Regions from separate parts of the Homo sapiens genome. Here all the other regions are linked to region 2. The links are contacts of gene promoters, found by promoter capture Hi-C in blood cells and fetal thymus (Javierre and others, 2016). All regions are on one chromosome and are shown on one strand. Each heading gives the region's core, a stretch centred on a gene start or on the middle of the fragment in contact. The rest is flanking DNA. Distances are from core to core; before and after follow the strand shown. Region 1 overlaps LDAH (lipid droplet associated hydrolase). Region 2 holds the start of GDF7 (growth differentiation factor 7). Region 3 has its middle 16 kb from the start of LDAH.

What was found. The method cuts DNA at HindIII sites, captures the fragments that hold promoters and counts their contacts. A CHiCAGO score of 5 or more calls a contact.
Region 1: a fragment that was not itself captured here is called in contact with the fragment with the promoter of GDF7 in region 2 in 1 of 17 cell types (total B cells); the score reaches 6.5 in total B cells.
Region 3: a contact is called between a fragment that was not itself captured here and the fragment with the promoter of GDF7 in region 2, in 1 of 17 cell types (total B cells). The highest score is 6.9, in total B cells.

What each region holds. Positions count from the first base shown.
Region 1 is chr2:20,809,090-20,811,789 of GRCh38, reverse strand. All of the region lies in intron 1 of LDAH (lipid droplet associated hydrolase), which reads left to right. Among named protein-coding and RNA genes, the nearest start is that of LDAH, 13 kb to the left of the region's middle. The HindIII fragment of the contact is 310 bases long and covers 1,175-1,484 here.
Region 2 is chr2:20,665,711-20,668,410 of GRCh38, reverse strand. GDF7 (growth differentiation factor 7) reads right to left here and starts at 1,267. Exons shown (of 2, transcript NM_182828.4): 1 at 781-1,267. The coding sequence starts at 1,171. RefSeq lists enhancers at 588-707, 1,694-2,524 and silencers at 1,188-1,337, 1,378-1,427, 1,498-1,607. The HindIII fragment of the contact is 16,143 bases long and covers 1-2,700 here.
Region 3 is chr2:20,837,899-20,840,598 of GRCh38, reverse strand. No RefSeq gene overlaps it. Among named protein-coding and RNA genes, the nearest start is that of LDAH, 16 kb to the right of the region's middle. The HindIII fragment of the contact is 2,855 bases long and covers 1-2,700 here.

The sequences.
Region 1 (2,700 bases), core at 80-2,579, 140 kb before region 2:
AGTTTAGGCCAGGTGAGGTGGCTCATACCTGTAATCCCAGCACTTTGGGAGGCCGAGAGGGGTGGATCACGAGGTCAGGAGATCGAGACCGTCCTGGCTAACACAGTGAAACCCCATCTCTACTAAAAATACAAAAAATTAGCCAGGCATGGTGGCAGGCGCCTGTCGTCCCAGCTACTCGGGAGGCTGAGGCAGGAGAATGGCGTGAACCCCGGGGGCAGAGCTTGCTTTGAGCCGAGATCGCGCCACTGCACTCCAGCCTGGGCGACAGAGCAAGACTCATCTCAAAAAACAAAAAAAAAAAACTAGTTTAATCCAGTTAATCCAGTCCCTCTGCCTTTTAAATCCACCAGATTATCTTTCCTCCAACATCTTCCCAAACTGTTCTGAGGAAGGAGATGAGGTATTAATGAGAGAGATTAGTAGGATCACCATTAATGAAATATAGTCAAATCAGTTTTTAGAAGGTTGAGTCCGGGCGCGGCCGCTCACGCCTGTAATCCCAGCACTTTGGGAGGCCGAGATGGGCGGATCACGAGGTCAGGAGATCGACACCATCCTGGCTAACACGGTGAAACCCCGTCTCTACTAAAAATACAAAAAAATTAGCCGGCCGTGGTGGCGGGCGCCTGTAGTCCCAGCTACTCGGGAGGCTGAGGCAGGAGAATGGCGTGAACCCGGGAGGTGGAGCTTGCAGTGAGCCGAGATCGCGCCACTGCAGTCCAGCCTGGGCGAGAGAGCGGGACTCCGTCTCAAAAAAAAAAAAAAAAGAAGGTCGAATACCTTTTTGGCACCAGGGACCCATTTTGTGGAAGTCAATTTTTCCACAAATGGTGGGGAGTGGGGAGTGATGGTTTTGGGATGAAACTGTTCCATCTCAGATCACTGGGCGTTAGTTTCTCATAGGGAGCATACAACCTAGATCCTTCGCATGCACAGTTCACAATAGGGTTTGCGTTCCTGTGAGAATTTAATGCCTCCACTGATCTAACATGAGGCGGAGCTCAGGCAGTAATGCTTGCTTGCCGCTTATCTCCTGCTATGTGGCCTGGTTCCTAACCAGTTCCAGACCATGGCCCAGGGATTGTGGACCCCTGTTGTATACTATGTCCCCCTCTAAAGCATTCTCAGTTCTTATCGGTGTGCTTTGAAAAAGTTCCTCAGAAGTAAAGCTTATGTGCCTTTGTGTTTAACTTAACTTTGCAGATTGTGTTTTCCAAAGATGGCCACAATAGTAACTCCCATACCACATGTTCTTTTTACAATATGACTTTGACACTTCTTCTACTGACCCCTCTCAGTAGAAATGTCACAGTCATATTGTACAAAGAACATGCTGTCTTTGAATATTGATGGGCTTCTGTCTAACATGGAAGTGATGCTATGTGACTTTTGAGGGTAGGTCATAAAAGGTGATACAACTTTAATCTGGTACTCTTGAGACATTTGCTCTTGGAACCAAGCCACCATTTTCTGAAGAAGCTTAAGTAGCCCATATTGGCAGGCCAAATGGAGAAGGCACATGCAGGTGTTCCAGGCCAACAGCCTATGTGACAACAGCATCAGTCACCAAGCATATGAACAAAGATACTTCCAGATGACTCCTGCCTCCAGTGATCAGATCACACCCAGTTCTTGAGTTTTCTCAGCTAAGGCCCCAGACTTTGGATCAGAGATAGGCTATCTTTGTTGTGCCCTTTCTGAATTCCTGACCCACAGAATCCATAAGCATAGTAAATGGTTGTCTTAAGCCACTAAGTTTTAAAGTAATATTTTAGATAGCGAGAGTAACTGGAACACCCAATGTTTCCTGAGAACACTTTATTTTCTTAAGTATGGTAACTGGTAGCTTGTGATACATGTTCCTTGGAAAACCTGTTTGTGGAATTTCTGGTTTTCTAATTTTTTAGCTTGCCATTCAAGGCCTTCATAGTGAACAGTAGGACAGCTTCGGTATTGGCCTATACATATCCAGCAAATCAGTCTCCTCCCTGAATGGTATTTTATTTATAGTTTCTGTATCAGTATTCTTTTACTCTTCTAGAAAGCCCTTATGTTTATTCGCTGATAGTCTCTTTTGTGAAGTGCCTGTTCAAATATCATTTTTCTATTGAGTTGTCTCTTACTGATTTGTAAAAGTTCTTTGTAAATTCTGGATATGTGCATGTTGGGACAAAAATCTATTTTTATATCCTGTGTGTATATATATATTTCCTAACAACAGGCTCGTTTTCAGAATACTATACATATGTGTATATATGTGTGTGTGTATATGTATAGTGTTCTCCCACTCTGTGACTTGCCTTCTGACTCTCTTAATAGTGTCTTTTGCTAAATCCAAGTTCTTAATTCTAATGGAGGATGGAATTTGAAAGTCTTTTCCTTTTTTTTTGAGATGAACTCTCACTCTGCTGCCAGGCTGGAGTGCAGTGGTGCGATCTCGGCTCACTGCAACCTCCGACTCCCTGGTTCAAGTAATTCTTCTGCCTCAGCCTCCTGAGTAGCTGGGATTACAGGCACGCGCCACCAAGCGCAGCTAATTTTTTTTTTTTTTGTATTTCTAGTAGAGATGGGGTTTCACGATGTTGGCCAGGATGGTCTTGATCTCCTGACCTTGTGATCCACCTGCCTCGGCCTCCTAAAGTGCTGGGATTACAGGTGTGAGCCACCACGCCTGGCAGTCTTTTCCTTTATGGCTCA
Region 2 (2,700 bases), core at 18-2,517:
CATCTTACCTTTGGAAGGCCCAGGGCAGAACAAGGTGGGGTGCTTAGTCTAAGAGAGGCCTGCATTCCTGCAGGGTCCCCAGCAGGCCTCTCCTCCCCACACCACCAGGATCCTTGACCTCTGGCTCTCCCAGGGGCCCAGCACCAGACACAGGCACCCATAGCTGCACATGTCACACACACACAAACCACCACCACCCAGACCAACCTGCTGAGCAGGGCACTCCTCATACCTGGTTATGCCACCAGCCTCTCCAGGGCCATTTACTTTAGTCTGATACCTGCCTCTGCCCTAGTTTTCCCTGGGCTTCCCCCAATTTGTGTGGCCCGCAGGAGACTGGGAGCTGCAGAAATTGCTGCAAGGAAGGAGCCATCACCCTCACCACCGTGCAGTCCCTCTCGCCGTGACTCCCGGGAACACAGCTCTTGCCCTCCTTTCTTCTCTGAGGGCTCCGAGGCCACTCCAGACCATTCCCCAAGAAGCGAATCTTGGCCTCCGCCTGCCTCCTCGAGGGGACCAGCCGGCCTGCAAGGCCAGGGAGACCTGGGAGAGGGACCAGTCAGCCCTCTGGGACTGGGCCCCGGGAGCTGCCGCGACTCTCGCCACAGTCCAGGTGCAGCGGGCTGGAGAGTGTTGGCCTCGGCGAAGTTTCTTTCTATCACCTGAGGGTGGGCCGCATGGGGCCGCGGCTCCAAATGTAACGGAGCTGCGGCACGGCTCCGGGGCTGGTCTCAGCCCAGGACCTGACGGGATGGGCGGGCACAGAAGAGGCGTAAGTACCTTGGGTCGCCTGGTCTGTGAAGCCGGTGATCGTGTCCGCGCGACCATGGCCCGAGGCGGAGACAGCGGCTGCCCCGGCCGGAGCCCTCCCGGCCAGGCTCCGGTAAAGCGACATCATGAAGTGGTGCGGCACCACCGAGCCGTTCCTGAAGCCGGAGCCCGCGGCGCGGCGCGCGGCGCGGGCCCGGGGAACCGCGGCGGCCGGGACAGCCGCGGCGCCCGCAGCCTGGGCAAGAGTCCGCCCGCCGCCGCCGCCGCCGCCGCCGCCCCCTGGGCTCCGGACCGGCCCAGCCCCCGCCGCTCGCAGCACGGCGGCCGCTTCCAGCCCGTCGCGGGGGCGGCAGGCGCTCAGCAGCCAAAGGCACAGCGCGGCGGCGGCGCTCAGGTCCATGGGCTCCGTGGGCCGGGCGGGCGGGCGGCGCGGGCTCCGTGGCTCCGGGAAGTCCCCCGGCGCCTTTTGAACATAGTGTTTAATAATGGGGGAAGTGTGCGCGGCCAGCCCGCGGCCCCCCCTCCTGGCCCACCCCACCCCCGCCCAACGCCCGGAGCAGCGCCCCCTGCTGAAAGCTCCGGCGGCCGCTATGCGCCCCCCACCCCGGCCTAGAGTGGAGACCAGGGCCGGAGCCGCCTCCTCCCACCGCAGCGCTACGCCCCCACCCTCGCCAAGCGACTGCCACTGGCCCCAGCCTCCCGACACGCCTCCCCGCGGCAGTGCGACACCCCCTCCATCCGCCCAAGACCAACGCGCCCTCCGTGGTTCCAGGCTCGGGGCACCGCGCGCACCCGCCCAGCTTCCTCCCCACTCCCCCGCAGAGAAACACCCGCCCCCTCCCTGCCCTGGTTCCCAATGCCGGGAACGGGGCGGCAGAGTTGGGGCCGCGGAAGGGCTCGCCCTCCAGACCGCTTCGCGCCGCGGCCGGGTGGCCGCGCAGAGAGAGGCCACAGGATGCTCCCGGCGGCCTCAAAGTCGCGTTCCGGATCGCGGGTCGGCGGTTCCCCACTCAGCCACAGACCCCAAAGGATTGCAGCGGGCGGCCAGAGCAGGGGAGGGGGCCGGTAGGGGAGGAAGGGAGGGCGAGGAGCTGAAAGGGCAGGCCTGTAAGAGACCTTTGGACGCGGACCGCCCGTCGTAAAAGCAAGGTTTGGGCGCGGAAGTTGCGCTTCAGCGGGAGCCAAGCTCTAGAAAGAGCTCGAAATGAGGACGGCAGCCCCGGGTGATGGGGGATCTCGCGCGGGAGTGCGCTAAGAGTTTGGCTGTGCGTCCAACTGGCGACCTTCCACCCGCCTTCTGGGCGAGGGCAGCGGCTAACGAAAACCAGCTACCGGCTGTGTGCGTGAGCGGCCAGGAGCCGGGAGAGCGGACGGCGCAGAGCCCCGGGATGGCGCCTCCGAGCTTCTTACCCCGCCGCGGTGATGGCGCGGGTCCCGAGGTGGATGGAGGGGACGCCCGGCAGCGGCGAAGCCCTGGGGCGCACTCGCGCGGGCCGCAGAGCAGTTTGCTCCGCGGCTGGGACAGGTTGCGGAGGCCAAGTCTCAGGGGAACGCGCAGGAGAGGGGGGTTATCGGCTCTGCTCCGCCGGCAGCCTGGACATCCCCCTAGATCGGAAACTTTCAGCTGATCGAAGGCCTGGGCCAAACGAACTGCCGAAGAAGGGCAGGCGGGTCCTTTTCCTTTAAAATTGCATTTTCTGCAGAACTCAAAATCTAGACTGGGTCGGCACGTCGTGATCACCTTGAGCGGGTGATCAGCTTCAAAGCGAGGTCGCCCGCCGAATCCAAAGCCGCCTAGGTCCCGACGCCTGCCTGGCTGCGCTGCGCTGGGACCCACAGAGAGGCCCGGCCCAGGCTCCCCAGTTCCCCTGCTCCACTGCTTCGTCCCAAACGAACTCCTCAGCCATTGCCCTCTCGGCCACCGCGGAG
Region 3 (2,700 bases), core at 130-2,629, 170 kb before region 2:
ATCTTTGACTTTCATGGGCATATAGTAGGTGTATATATTTATGGGGTACATGAGATATTTTGATACAGGCATATAATGTGTAGTAATCATGTCATGGTAAGTGGGGTCCATCATCATAAGCATTCATTATTTCTTTGTTATAAGCAATCCAATTATACTCTTCTGGTTATTTTTAAGTGTACAATACATTATTGTTGACTGTAGACACCCTGTTGTGCTATCAAATCCTAGATCTTATTTATTCTATCTATTTATATTTTGTGCTCATTTACCAACCTTCTTCCTCCCTCCCTCATCCACCACCTACTACCTTTCTCAGACTCTGGTAACCATCCTTTTACTCTCTATCTCCATAAGTTCAACTGTTTTAATTTTTAGCTCCCACAAATAAGTGAGAACACGCAAAGTTTGTTTTCCTGTGCCTGGCTTATTTCACTTAACATAATGACCTCCAGTTCCATCCATAATGTTGCAAATGACAGGATCTCATTCTTTGTATGGCTGAATAGTATCCCATTGTGTGTATGGTACCACATTTCCTTTGTTCAGTTGTCTGCAGATGGACACTTAGGTTGCTTCCAAATATTGGCTATTGTGAATAGTGCAGAAATAAACATGGGAGTCAGAGATCTCTTCAATATACTGATTTCCTTCCTTTTGGGTATATACCTAGCATTGGGATTGCTGGATTATAAGGTAGTTCTACTTTTAGTTTTTTGAGGAACGTCCAAACTATTCTCTGTAGTGTTTGCACTATTTTATTTACATTCCCACCAAGATTGTATGAGGGTTTCCTTTTCTCCACATCCTCACCAGCATTTGTTATTGCCTATCTTTTGGATAAGATTCATTTTAACTGGGTTGAGATGCTATCTCATTGTAGTTTTTAAAATAAAACAGCAATAGCTCAGGTAGAACTAAATCGTGGTAGTTTTGATTTGCATTTCTCTAATGATCAGTGACGCTGAAACAACACTCATTTTTCTTTTCCTTTTTATTTGTACAAATATATGGGGTATATGTGCAAGTTTGTTATGTGCATAGATTGTGTAGTGGTCAAGTCAGCACTTTTAGGGTATCCATCACCGAAATAACATACATTATATCCATTAACCAACTCTTCATCATCCTCCCCCTTCTCACCTCCAGACTCTTCCAAGTCTCCATTATCTATCATTCCACTCTTTACAACAATGTGAACAAATTTTTAGCACCCAATTATGAGTGAGAATATGCAGTATTTGTCTTTCTATGTCTGTCTTGTTTCACTTATGCTAATGAAATCCAATTTCATCAATGTTGCTGCAAATGACATGATTTCATTTTTATGGCTGCATAGTATTCCATTGTGTATATATACCACATTCTCTTTATCCATTCATCTGTTGATGGACACAGGTTCATTCCGTATCTTTGCTATTTTGCATAGTGTTTCAATAAATATATGAGGGCAGCTATCTTTTTGATATATTGACTTGTTTTCTTTTGGGTAGATGCCCAGTAGTGAGATTGCTGGGTTGAATGGTAGTTCTATTTTTAGTTCTTTGAGAACTCTCCATACTACTTTCCATACAGGCTGTACTAATTTTCATTCCCAAGAACAGTATATAAGCCTTTCCTTTTCTCCACGTGCTCAAAATATTTATTTTCTGAGAGACATTTATAAAGATATATGATGTCATTCTCCTTATCAGTTATTTTTACCTGTTTTAAGGACTGATAAAATCAGAATTTGAAAATGACAAGAAAAAAAGTCTTTTTTTTATATTAATGAATTTCTAGAACTATGTCCCAAAGCTGATGGGTATACAGCAATGGGATTTCCTCAAAGAAACGGAGCTGTAATAGGGAAATTTTTTTGCCCAAAGACTTGGCATCAAATGAATCATGACTGTCTGCAAAATTTGTCGTATAACAAATAGCAAATTTTGCATATAGCAAAGGCACAGCTATAAATCTTTATAATAATAATTTAAATAACAAAAATTGTGTTTCAAGTTGCATAAAATGTACTTATACATTATTGGTTCAAAAGATGTTACTATATCATATTTAGATGTACATTATATATTATATGTTGTATGTTATATATAATACAATATTTAAAGGTACATACAAAGGATACATATCTATATATTTGACATGTCCTGTATTAGGCACTTGTGCTACTTTTTGCTACAATAAAAAATAATCCCGAAATCTCAACAATTTACAACAATGAAGATTTATTTCTTGCTCCCATTGCATGTCCTTCCCAGATTGGCTGCACCTCTATTCCACATCTTCTTCATTCTGGGACCCAAGACAAAGGAACACCCCAATCTGGGACATGCTGATCTTGAGGCAGAGAGAAAAGAGGAATGGCAGAATTCCACAATGGCAGAATCCCACAATGGACCATCTGTTAACATTCCATTGTCTATAACAAGCTACAACGCCAAGTTTGATGTCAATGGTGCACAAAATACAATGTCTCACTGGGAAGGGCAGAAAATTATTAAGAGTAATTTTATTGTTTAAGAGACTTCCTGAAAACATATTTATCCAAAGGGCAGATCACCCAATTATCTCCACAGGACAATGATCACTCAACTGAACAAATGTGCTTGCTTATCAAATGACTGTTTACTTGTCAGTACATCAGGAAATGGGATCTACTCAAAGCAAAGCTCAAAGGAACATTCACCGCTGGAAGATTTA